2 separate regions of the Homo sapiens genome follow, and region 2 is linked to region 1. Evidence: promoter capture Hi-C in 16 types of primary human blood cells and fetal thymus (Javierre and others, 2016). All regions are on one chromosome and are shown on one strand. Each heading gives the region's core, a stretch centred on a gene start or on the middle of the fragment in contact. The rest is flanking DNA. Distances are from core to core; before and after follow the strand shown.

The links. Contacts are between HindIII fragments. The CHiCAGO score rates a contact against its expected background, and 5 or more counts as called.
Region 2: a contact is called between a fragment that was not itself captured here and the fragment with the promoter of CARD18 in region 1, in 1 of 17 cell types (neutrophils). The highest score is 5.8, in neutrophils.

The regions. Positions count from the first base shown.
Region 1 is chr11:105,136,896-105,142,974 of GRCh38, reverse strand. It overlaps CARD18 (caspase recruitment domain family member 18), which reads left to right and starts at 3,206. Exons shown (of 3, transcript NM_021571.4): 1 at 3,206-3,255; 2 at 3,897-4,163; 3 at 4,877-5,261. The coding sequence starts at 3,249. The coding sequence ends at 4,162. The HindIII fragment of the contact is 11,660 bases long and covers 1,880-6,079 here.
Region 2 is chr11:105,313,282-105,319,360 of GRCh38, reverse strand. The region is part of intron 2 of LOC105369468 (a long non-coding RNA gene); the gene reads left to right. Among named protein-coding and RNA genes, the nearest start is that of CARD18, 180 kb to the right of the region's middle. The HindIII fragment of the contact is 3,630 bases long and covers 1,848-5,477 here.

The DNA of each region.
Region 1 (6,079 bases), core at 1,957-4,456:
TGCAACTAACAAAGTACACTTGAATGGGTGATTTGACTCCAAATCTGGGAAGAGGGGAAGGCTTCTGAAAAAAAAAATCTTACATTTGATTTGTGCTCCCACTAATGTATAGTCACTAGATATGTTCCAGAATGTTTATACCCAAGAACAGAGGAATGAAAGATGGAACATTGAGTATCTTCAAAGAGTTATAAATGACATAAGTAAAGGTGGCAACTAGATAACTTATGCTTTCATGTCATAACTGCTCCCTACTCCCACAAAAGTAACAAATACTCTTTTCCTAATGACAAATCTGAATTGCTAGTGCAAATAAAATTCCAGAAATCTGAAACGAGCCTAGATCTAAATTTTCAAGTCATCACTCATCCTTTAAAACACTACCTGTTGCTTATCATGTAATTTATTTATTTTATGATAATTATATCTCAATTCAAATTATATTCTGGAGTAAGTGCCTTTACAAATAGGGTAGTAGATAATTCCACTTTTAGTTATTATGAGGTCTCTATTCTCTTCTTGTAGTCTTACCAGGCTTACACATACTTGAGTGTTTTCCAGAAAAACAGGAAAAGGAAATCCTGCCTTTTCCATTCAAACATTATAATCATGGGCACTTTCATTTTGAAGTCAGCAATAGAGTGGCATATCTAAGAGTTCTCTGCTTAGCTTTGAGAGATCTGGGAAGCATATGTGAGTTTGGGAATCCTCGTGCTTACAGTTTTGCTTTCTAGAGGTATCAGTTGGCCACCAGCTATTGTCAGGCACCATCTCCTGTACTTCCATAGAATGGTGTGCTTTCCTGGCTGGTGGAGAACCAGGATAATATTCTTCTCTCTGTGATTTCCACAGTGATGTTCCATTCTTTCTGTGATTTGTCTTCTTCTTGTTCCAGATCCCAGTTTCATTCAGACCATCTCTAATTTCTATCCTGCCATAAATATTCCCTAAAGCAAGAGGACACAGAGCCTGCTATAAGCTAGATTGGAAAAGTAGGGAGAAAAAGAAAAAAAAGTCAAAGAAGTCAAAGATTAAAATCTCCACAATGTTTGACTATATACTACCAAGATAGAAATGTCTATTCCCAAGAAAATAAATGCAATTATTTGCCAAGAAAGCAGAAAGCAAATTGGCAGACTTCAGGTAAAATGTGAACCACAGGCAAGCTTTGTTTAATTTTCACAGTGTTTTAAAACAATAGTAAACCAACTGAAAGTATTTTTAAAATTAGAGATAAAGTACCCTTAAAATGAAAAAGTAAACTGAATTTTCATTCTCTTAGCCAAAATTAGTTGGGTCTGAGGAGCCCTGCCCCTTCAGAGAGGACTACCCTTACCAGATAGGCACAGCCTCCCCTCTCCAATTCACCTCATTTGGTGTATTCCTGGGCCCATGGGCACATAAGCTGTAGCACCTTGCCCAGATTTTAAATATTTATCAAATTATGTCACATATATAAGCTAATACAAATATTTTACCAAAGATGTGATTCCCCCAATCTTCTGAGAATATTTTTCTTTAAAGAACTCTTAAAATATTTTGTATACATTTAATGAGTATATGTGTCTCTCCTACTATCATACAACTTCTAATAGGGTAGGAATTTTTGTCTGTTTTTGGTCATTACTACATCCCCAGCATCTATAATAATGTATGGCACATAGACTTGGGTCTCAGTAAATAACTATGCTGAATATTTATGTTGAATGAATTGATGAGATGAATAGGGGATTTTACATGGACATATATAATAATTGAGGTGCTTCCTTTATGCCAGGGGCTATTTTAATGACTTATATTTGTTCATTAAATACTTGCAATAAAACTGCAAGGTAGGAATTATCATCAAACCTATCTGGCAGATGGGAAGACTAAAGCTTGGTTAATTTCCTTTCCTAAGATCAGCAGTTAAAATATGGATCCAACCATTCTGGCTTCAGAGTCTGTGCCCTTAATCTTTGTAATACAGTGTTACTTAAAATGGTGCCATCTGAAGAAAAAGAGCCTTACGTAACAAAGCACTTTTATTCCAAATAGCAAAACTGCTTCATACACCATTTCTGCGTCTGGAGACTGCCTAGAGCTTAGGTAAAAAACAATGAAAGGAAGGTAAGAAGTCTTAGTCCATCTCACACCCATTAGGATGGCTATTATCAAAAGAACAGAAAAATAATATGTATTGGTGAGGACATGGAAAAACTGGAACGCTTCTGCTTTATATGTGGGAATGTAATACAGTGCAGCTGCTATGGAAAACAGCATACCGATTTCACAAAACAAAATGAAATAGAATTACTCTATGATTTGTCAGTTCCACTTCTGGGTATATATTCAAATAATTGACAGCAGAATCTCAAAAACATATTTGTATACCATGTTCATAGCAGTGTTATTTACAATAGCAAAAGGGAAGAAATTTGTGCTCAATGAAGAATGGGTAAACTAAAATGTGGTACATACATAGAATGGAGTATTATTCAACTTCAGAAAGAAAGGAAATTGTGACCCATGCCACAACATGAATAAACACCGAGGACATTACACTAAGTGAAATAAGTCAGGCATCAAAAAATGAATACTGTATAATTCTACTTACATGAGATACCTAGAGAAGTCAAATTCATAAAGACAGAAAGTACAATGTTAGTTGCCAGGGACTGATGGAAGGAAAGGATAGAGAGTTACTGTTTAAGGAGTATAGAGTTTCAATTTCCCAAAATGAAAACAACTACAGTTGGATGATATTGATGGCTACACAGCAATGTGAATGTACTTAATGCCACTGAACTGGATACTGTAAAATGGCTAAGATGGTAAATTTTATATTATGTGTATTTTACCACAATTTAAAAAAGGAACTCTTAGTACTTGATTTAGGTGGCACAACTACCCTATACTGTGATTTTACTTTCCATTTAAATCTCAGTGAATTAAAGATTGTTTACTGCATGTGTTTAGCTCTGTGTGTGCCTTCTCAATTCTCTCCTATTCTTGTTTCTCACCCACCAAGGAATGGTAAAGCAATTTTCTTATGGGCACAGTTCATGCTACAATCTGAGATTCAATTGTGTAAAAATACCTTGGGAAATGACAATAGTTAACAGCTTCTTGGGCAATAATTATAAATACACATGTGTAGGTGTAAGTATTGTTCATTGATCTGTGTACACGCCCTGCCTAAAAGGATAGAGCTACCTTGCCTGTCATTGCAAGTGTAACACACATTGCAAGTGCCAACGTGAGGAGCCATGGCTGGTGAGTCTTCCCCAGTAAGAGGATAGGTCTTAGGGAGGAATTAGTTTGGGAAAGGACTGCCTTTCTCATTAGGCTTTGTGAAGGTTTGTGTGGGCAGCCTTGGGGTGGAGAGAGAAAGAAGAAGGGAGAGGCAGGGTGGGAAGATGCCCAGACTTGCACAGCGTTTTTGAAGGAACAGATAAAGGCCAGGAAGAATCTGGGATCCTACTGGTATCTGCTATAATTTTGCTAGTGTTGTCCACATTTGAAGAGTTATGTAGTTCAGGATGAGAATGGGCACAGGATGGGTATCAGTAGCTGTTGTTCTCAAAGGAAACAGTCAATTCCCTTCAAAATTCATGAAACTGTCAATTCCCTTCAAAATTCAAGAAACTGGGATGTGTCAGAATAGAATGACTTCTGATTTTTAGGAGATTCACAGAAAAATCATGAAGTCAAGTTTCCCAGGTCACTCAGTGAGCATATGTAGGTAATGCTAGAATCAGAAGGAAGTACGTGGAGTAAATGCAAAGGTATAAGACCGTTCCTTGGGATTACTGTACTTGTGGAGAGAAATGTTTAAATGATTGTTACCCTGTTGGTAAATTGAGAGGGAAATTGTGTCATGTTCATTATTTGAGGAATCTTTGTGCTTCCAACAGACCAACTCTTGCGTAAAAAGAGAAGAATTTTTATCCATTCAGTGGGTGCAGGCACAATAAATGCCTTGCTGGATTGCCTATTAGAGGATGAAGTTATTAGCCAGGAAGACATGAACAAAGTGAGAGATGAAAATGACACTGTCATGGATAAGGCTCGAGTCTTGATTGACCTTGTTACTGGAAAAGGACCCAAGTCTTGCTGCAAATTTATCAAGCATCTCTGTGAAGAAGACCCTCAACTTGCCTCAAAGATGGGTTTGCACTAAGGTAAGGTGGAATGATTCAACCTAATGTCCAAATAGGCCCTGTATCTTGAATTCAGTTATGATTTTCTTCACTTGTCTTGTCAGTTGATAATAGGGTTCCTATCATTTTAGCCTCAGACTCCATTCCTTTATGCATGGCTCTAGCTTATGTCTCTTCTGTCTACGTTTTTGTGTCCCTTGTACCTGTTCTCTCAGTACTCCCTGCTGACCACAGCTCATCTCTAATTCTATGTAGGTGGTAGATCATTACTGTAGTTCATTTAAAGAGCCTAGATGTTTTATCCTGAATCTTTTAATGGTCCTGGGGAGCAATGTACAATATCACTCCCTCTTGAGCCTAAGAAGCCCATGTATTTATTAGAAGAGAAGGTATAAGCTCTTTTTGTACCTACCACCCTGCTCTTACCCCATCTCCCTATTAAGTACTTTTCAGAATATACAATGATGATGGAATTGTCAAAGAATAAATTGAGTGTGTATATAAAATTAAATATGCACTAAATAATTATATTTGCATGAAATTATATATGGATTCTCGTTGGAAGTCATCTCCTTTGCCTTTTCTTTTGTGTAATATGGTCTACTTGCATGGGGCTAGTCTACAGACCATTCTCTGTAGCCTATCCCTTTGTATTTCTAGGCCTCCTAAGAGCCCTGATGCAGGCTCTTGTATCTGAGCTGGCCCATTCCAATACCACTTTTCTCCCTCCACAGAGAGAAGATGGAACTCTGGAGCACTTCAGAGACTTCCCAGAGCTTCTTCCAAGGGAGAAGATATTCTCGTGAAAGAAAAAAACAAAACAAAACAACAGTGCTTTTTTCAAACCTGATTAATTTCATCAATTTCCAATAAATCTTTCATTCTCTCATATTACTTTCTTCTTATTCTTTCTCTCCTCATACCAACAGAGGATAATTCATCAATAATAATGAAGGTCATGATGATTGTAATGTAATTAAGAAAGTCCCTCCCTTTCCCTTCCTTTCTGTTTAGTTCCTTTGCAATCCTGTAGAGACATGTACAGCTTACTTTGGTGCTTTTAGCACTGAGAGTCTGCTGTGATGGGAATAAAATGAAGTCCCAGCTCAGAATTTTAAATAGCGTTGCTTCTTTGTAATGTTCTCATCTAGTTGTTCAGACCCAGGTCTATGACAATTACTCAACAAAATAAACACAACTTCCTTTCTGGGAAAATAATAGAGAAAAATCCATGGCAGATACTCCATTGCCAGACATCAGGCTTCCACAAAAAAACTGTTCATAAAAGCACTGATAGCATTTCAAGTCCACATGGGCAGGGTGAAACAAGATATGACTTAATGTCTGAGGAATGGAGATTTGTGGAGTCAAGATAGTGTGATGGCATGTCATCGCTTTGCACCCTTCAGAGCAAAACACTGGCTATTAATTATGCTTAAGCTGTCTTTTCCCTGTGTATATAGTGTTAAATAATGAAGCATTGTCTTCTAGATGCCTCAGGATGTCTTCTAATTTGTTAGCTCATGTCAATTTCTAAAATTTCTGGCATAGGTGCTAACAAAGCATTGGGTGCCAGGAACAAAGGCCAAAAGAATTTCCTGAATTTTTTAGGTTTGTGCACTTTTTCCAAGCTCTTTAGCAAACTAAAATAAAACTTAATGTGATTCCTCTCCTTTCTGAATTTGTCAGCCATAAATTACGGAGAAAATAATTATTATAGGTTGACACCAAATACAGTAAATGGGAATGTTTGTTACTTTCTTCTACAGAAGAGGTATATGCCACTGACCGGAAGTGTTTATTTGAGATAAGTGATTAAGGTTAGGGCTATTCTCATTTGCAATCAGCTGGTTTATTTGAGAAAACACATTTTGAGGGTGATATTGTTTGTCTCTGTGTCCCCACCCAAATCTCATCTTGTAGCTCCCATAATTACC
Region 2 (6,079 bases), core at 2,413-4,912, 180 kb before region 1:
ATAACAATTATTTATCACTGATTATATTATTTCTCATGACACTGCATCATCCACCTTGCAGTCCATGAACTTTGGCTTCCAGTGACTCTTCCAAAATTTTTTATTACTATGTTTCATTGATAGTGACTATAAATGCGAGTTTTGCCTGCAGTATTCAGACAAAATGTGAATGATAGTTCATTTTCTGATTATGTTGACTTTACCATACATAATTTTATAGTAAAGATGTCAAACAGCACATCCTTCAACCTATCTTCTCTTGAACTCTGTTATTATTGCATTCATAGAATATAATCTCTTTCAATTTTGACCACATTCCCTACCTTCCTACCCTCCAGGCAATAGTACTAGGTGGCAGAGTAGGCAAGAGTTCCTAGGCAGAGCTAAAAGAGTGATTTCATTTGCACAGGGAATATTTATCTTTCCTTTGGTATGGCTTAGACTCATAGAAAAAAGCATATCATTGGCAAATCAGTGGTAATGGAGCACATTGATTGAAATAAGTTGTAGATGGTCATGTAAAGCCTCCAAGGATAAGCTGAGACATGCCTTGAGGGTTGCCTGACATATGATGGGGAACCTGTGAAGAGTACCAGTGGTAGTAAACTCCCCAGGAACAGGATGACTACTGCCATCTTCTCAGCCTTCAGGACCTGCAGACCACAGGCAGCACAGCAACGGGATACCAAAAGGGCAAGAGTAGGCATACTGGTCACACATTTGGCTATAGCCCGTGAACTGTGCCCGTTGCCCAAAGTCCTGAACTCTCCTCTGTTGAGAAGAAAGAACTCAGTATCTCAGCATCTTTCCTGCACACCAATCTTCTGCTCTCTGTTAAAAGAAATACAGCCCCTGCCAGTGGGAGTGATCCTTGCCAGTCATCTTTCTGAAACCATGGAGAAGTTATGGGGCCAGAAACCATCCCATAGGCAGGAGTCTTCGTGGTCCTCGGGGCGTTTACTCAATCTCTTGTGGGACTGGGAAGGCATAAAAGGTTAGAATGTCTCCAAGGGCAGAAACAGGAACAGGCTTACACAGTTGCTGGCCTAGGGCTACAGATCCTGTCTTTCCATGCAAAAAAAGCCATTCCAATGTGCAGGGCCCCTGAAATGTGTGCCCAAGGCAGGGACCCTGCAATGTGTGCCCAAGGCAGGGACCCTGCCTGCCCAGGTCTAGGCACTCTGTGGAGCTTAGCTGCTCCAGGTCACTCACTGCAAGATGCCCTCCTGGCCCAAGCGGGACCTCCAATGGGCTATTTTCACCTGTGTGCTTTCTTTTGGACCTGGGTTGCCTTCATGACTCTAAATCAATTTTTAATTATTTAAAATGTCTAATATCCTGGTTATTTTCAAAATTGTTGTTATAAACACTGTGTATTAAACTGGATATTATCTTTCACAGATCTTGCAGCCACCACTGATTATTTTCTTATTGTACTTTCCTGGAAGTGGGGTTTCTATGTCAAACATGAGCTGTAAAGACATCGGTAAATATTAAAGAGGGCTTGCAGAGTAGCTATGAGGATTAACTCAAAAGAGAAAGCATTTTTACGTTCAATATACACATCTTAATTTTACTTTCTGCTGTTATTCAAGAAAATAATATTTTCCTTTACTTTTATATATAGTTATTTTTGGGTCTTATTTATTTTAATAAATTCATATTTCTGCTTGCTTTTTTTAGAAACGTTAGTACTACTAGTTTTATGTCAAATTCTAAAGAAAAGACTAAACCAAATGCCATGTGAGCTATTAAATCTTCTGTAAAATGACTTTGTATCCATGTTTAGGGGAACCATGTAAGAGCTTGAAACTCACAGGTGGTCCTATTTATGATCTCGAAAAGCTTGGTGGAAAAAATTAGTCACTATAAGAAATACTTGGTGAAAAAGCAATAGCTTAGAATCCTACATAGTTCACTATTACATTTAAATATTTAAAACAAAATATATCTCTGTGTACATACTACATGTAGGAGAAATGAGCATGTTAATTTGAATTTTTTTCAAACCTGAAATTAATGTTTTATATTTGTATGTTTGTATCTTTTATAAGAACTTGATTTATTGGATTCCTTTTTTATTAAAACTGAATTATTCAACTGTAAGGTATTGAGTGGTTTATTGCTCACTTAAAAATTGCCTCACGTCATCTTTTTATCACCAGGTAAAATTCGTTGAATGTTTTTTAGGCTTGGGTTTCTTTTTCTGGTCTATTACCACCAGAGTTTTTTTTTGTCTCTAGTCCTATTTTGTTAATATCTAGTTAAAATCACATTTCTTTTACAATCCACTGGATTGTATTTGTCTGAGGTTGGAATCTATTTTGCTTCTTGGCTTCAGTTCATATTTCTTCAGCTTCTATTTAGAAATAATGCATATCACTTAATTTAGTTTCAACAGTTAATTATGTTCTTTGGTTTTTAATTAATTTGATATTAAAAAATTAAACATTTGCCAAATCGATAAAATTAGTTCCATCCTTTCTTTGTTAACTTACATATATAATTTCTCACTGAATTTTATTTTTCCTCATGAATTATTAATTAACATTTCAAAATAAAGCATAGTTTCATAGATCATACACTTGCACCCACACACACAAACCAGTTATACATCCATGTTTGTAAACTTCTTAGTCAGTAGACTTTGTGTTATTATTTATTTTGAAATATTTGAGAATTTTGTTGCTGTGGAGACACATGACTGATATGTGTGGACACTTTACATTCAGTAAAAATTAAGCAAAATATTTATACACAGACATATAAATAAAACTTTCATGGGCTATTAATTCCAAACTCCTTTCAACCATGATAACCTAGATATGCTGGACAAAAGTGAATTTAGAGGTTGAGGCCAACATTTAATTAACCTTGCAATAAAGAAAATGAAATTCTCAGGTACCTGAAAAGAAAAGGGTACATTTAGTACCATAAACTCTGTATTTAATGGGAGTGGGGTGTGTTTTGAAATGCACAGAATAAGGTTTTAAATACTAGTGACTTGTACTTTAACACACCCCAAAGGGTTAGGATGCTCAAATGAGCAAGTGAGAAAGTAGGAAATTTTAAAAATTGAATAAAGTCTGAAATATTTAATTTCCAATAAAAATCTTACCAGTTCAGGGAGAAAACAAGAAACTTGTTTATTTCAATGGATTTGGATGGGGAGTGTATTCTCCTATGAGGAACTGGTGTACAAAGCCTTTTATTTGTCCTGGTTAGTGGCTAGAATTTAATAAACTTAAAAGGAGTAAGACAAAGGAAGCCAATCAGAGCAGACTGGTAGTGTCTGAACACAGAACAGTGCAAGGTGTGGGAAACCATACCAGACTCCATCTGAACAAAACCCAGGAAACACGTGAATGTATTCCTGAATATAGAATAAAGAATCTCCTTGTTAAACTTGCCTTGTAGACAGAAGAATCATGATCAGAACTGGAAAACAGTGGACCTTGGTTGATGTATTTACACCCTGCCTTCAATCCCTATTGATAGGACTTCCGTTTATGGTCAATTTAGAGTAATGAAGAACAGCTGTACTCTTCCCTGAAACAACTGAGAACAGACAAAATACATAAAGTAATAGTGTACAAAATATTAGGCATCACATGATGAAGGCAATGATCCTTAAGACATGGGAAACAACTAAAGTCAATTCGTTGAATGCTAGTTTTACTGCATTGAGTAAGCTCCTATACTGTGCTGCAGAGAAGGGAAAGTCGAGACAGAGCTTGGTGAGCTCTGTGAGTGAAGAATATGGACATGGGAGTCCAGAGAGACTAAGACTGCCAGAATTTGGACAGAGCACCAGAAAGGAGAGAACTCCATAGAAGGAGAACTCCAGAGATCTGTAGAGGGCCCCCTTGAGTATTCTGCTGTGTAATGATCAGTATTACCTGTATGGGGAAACTCTCTGAGGCTAGGAAAGTAAACACTCGAAAGGCTTATAGAGAAGAGTATCTGGCACTCAAATAAGGCTGAACTGTGGTCTATTTCCACCTGCTATGATGGAAAACCTCATGATTCACAGAGCATCATGTGGAGTACACAGAAGAATCTTTTTTCAGTAGTGGGGAAAGATTATCCTGAGACTGAGCTCTACTCTTGTTCTCCCTTACAAATCCTAAGAGCAAGGCCAGATAAGATCAAACTACGTCCAAATCTCTCAATTTTATCCTAGAATAAAGCTGAAAAATATGAATAGGATATTATATATATTATATACTATAGGATCTGTGGAGTATATACAGAGTATATAATGTATACACTATAGGAATAATATACTATACATATTAGAGGATTATATATATATGTACACACGCTATATATATACTCAAGGATCATTTTCTTTATCACATGATGACAAATATTTTTGTACACTATTACTTTACATATTGTATATATGTGTGTATATATATAGTGTCAGTATATTTTTGAGCTGTATTCTAGTTAAGATATTGTAATATGTGTATATCTGTGTATATACATGTGATATTATAATATGTGTATATCTATATATGGCATATACATATATATTACAATATCCTAAGTAGAATACAGCCCGAGAATATATAGACAAAGACATACACATACACATGCCCTTACAGACACATATATGCTTGAGGTTTATTATATGAAATATAAAGTACTAATTAAAGATACTTAATACAAAAATATCCTTCAACAAACAAAGTAAAAATGCCAATGTCTGGCAATGCTAACCAAAAAATTATCTGGTTTTCAAAGAGGCAAGATAATATGATCCCTAAGGAGTAGAAAAATCAGTCAAAAGTAAGGCTTAATGGACACAGATGTTAAATTAAAAGACAACTATATTAAAATAGTTCTGATAACTCTATTTCATATGTATGAAAAGTTAAGTAGGCCATGGAAGACAAAAAGGGACCCAAAGTATATTTCTGTCAAAACTGTAATTTGTGAGCTGAAAAATTCAAACAATGAGATTAATGGCAGATGGGACATTGCAGAAGAAAAGATTAGTAAACTTGAAGGCATAGCAATTGTATCTATCCAAAATGCCACACAAAGAGAACAGAAAACTAAGGATAATAAACAGAGCGTTGGAGAGCTGTGGGGCAACTTCAAGAAATGTAATATATGTGCAATTGTGTTCCCTGAAAAAGAGAGATAGACAGAGAAAATATTTGAGCAAATAATGGCCAAAATTATTCCAAATTTGTTTGAAACAACTATAGCTCCACAGAACCAAAAAGCTCAATGAAATCAAAGCATAAGGAACATGAATAAAATGACATCAAGATACAGCATAATAAAACATTTTCAAAATCATCAATAAAGAGAAAATCTTAAAAGTATCCCGAAGAATGAAAGACATATTATGTATTGAAAGACGATAATGATAAAGACCTCAGATTTCCTGTAAAAAATATATGTAATATGCTTGACACAATTCAAAGTACTGATTGTATAGCCGTAAACAATATAAATAAGCTTCAGACCTTGTAAAGCTTACATCTGTATAGTGAAATCATACAACAGAGATAAGCAAATGTTATAAATGATAAACTGTCAGACAGACAATGACAGCACAAGGGAACAGAGAATAAAAGGATGCTACCCTTTAAGGATTGTCAAGGAAGATACAGTCAGACTTTTGAATATTTAAGGAACATTTCAGGTATAGGGACTATTGTAGCCCAGGGATTGGAATAAGCTTGATGTTGAATGTAGTTGGCATTCAAATGAATGAATGAATGAATTAAGAACACAATTCATTCATGCTTTGATGTTAAGAATTGTTAACTTTTATTGATCATCTGTAAAGACACTCAACTGTGCACTATAGTTATTCCTAGGATTATTTTGATTGAGTGTCTATCATATGCCAGGTTCTTTAACAAATTCTTGAAATTTCTGTCATCAATTTACAAATTAAGTATTATGCTCCTTCCCTTTTAATGAAAAGAGTCTGAAAAATACCACCAGCCATTGTATAATTCCCAAATTTAAATTTAGGTCATATGTCTTTCTGGTTTGAAACTCTTTATATCACATCAATGTTTCATGACTAATGAAGGTGCAAATATTTATTATG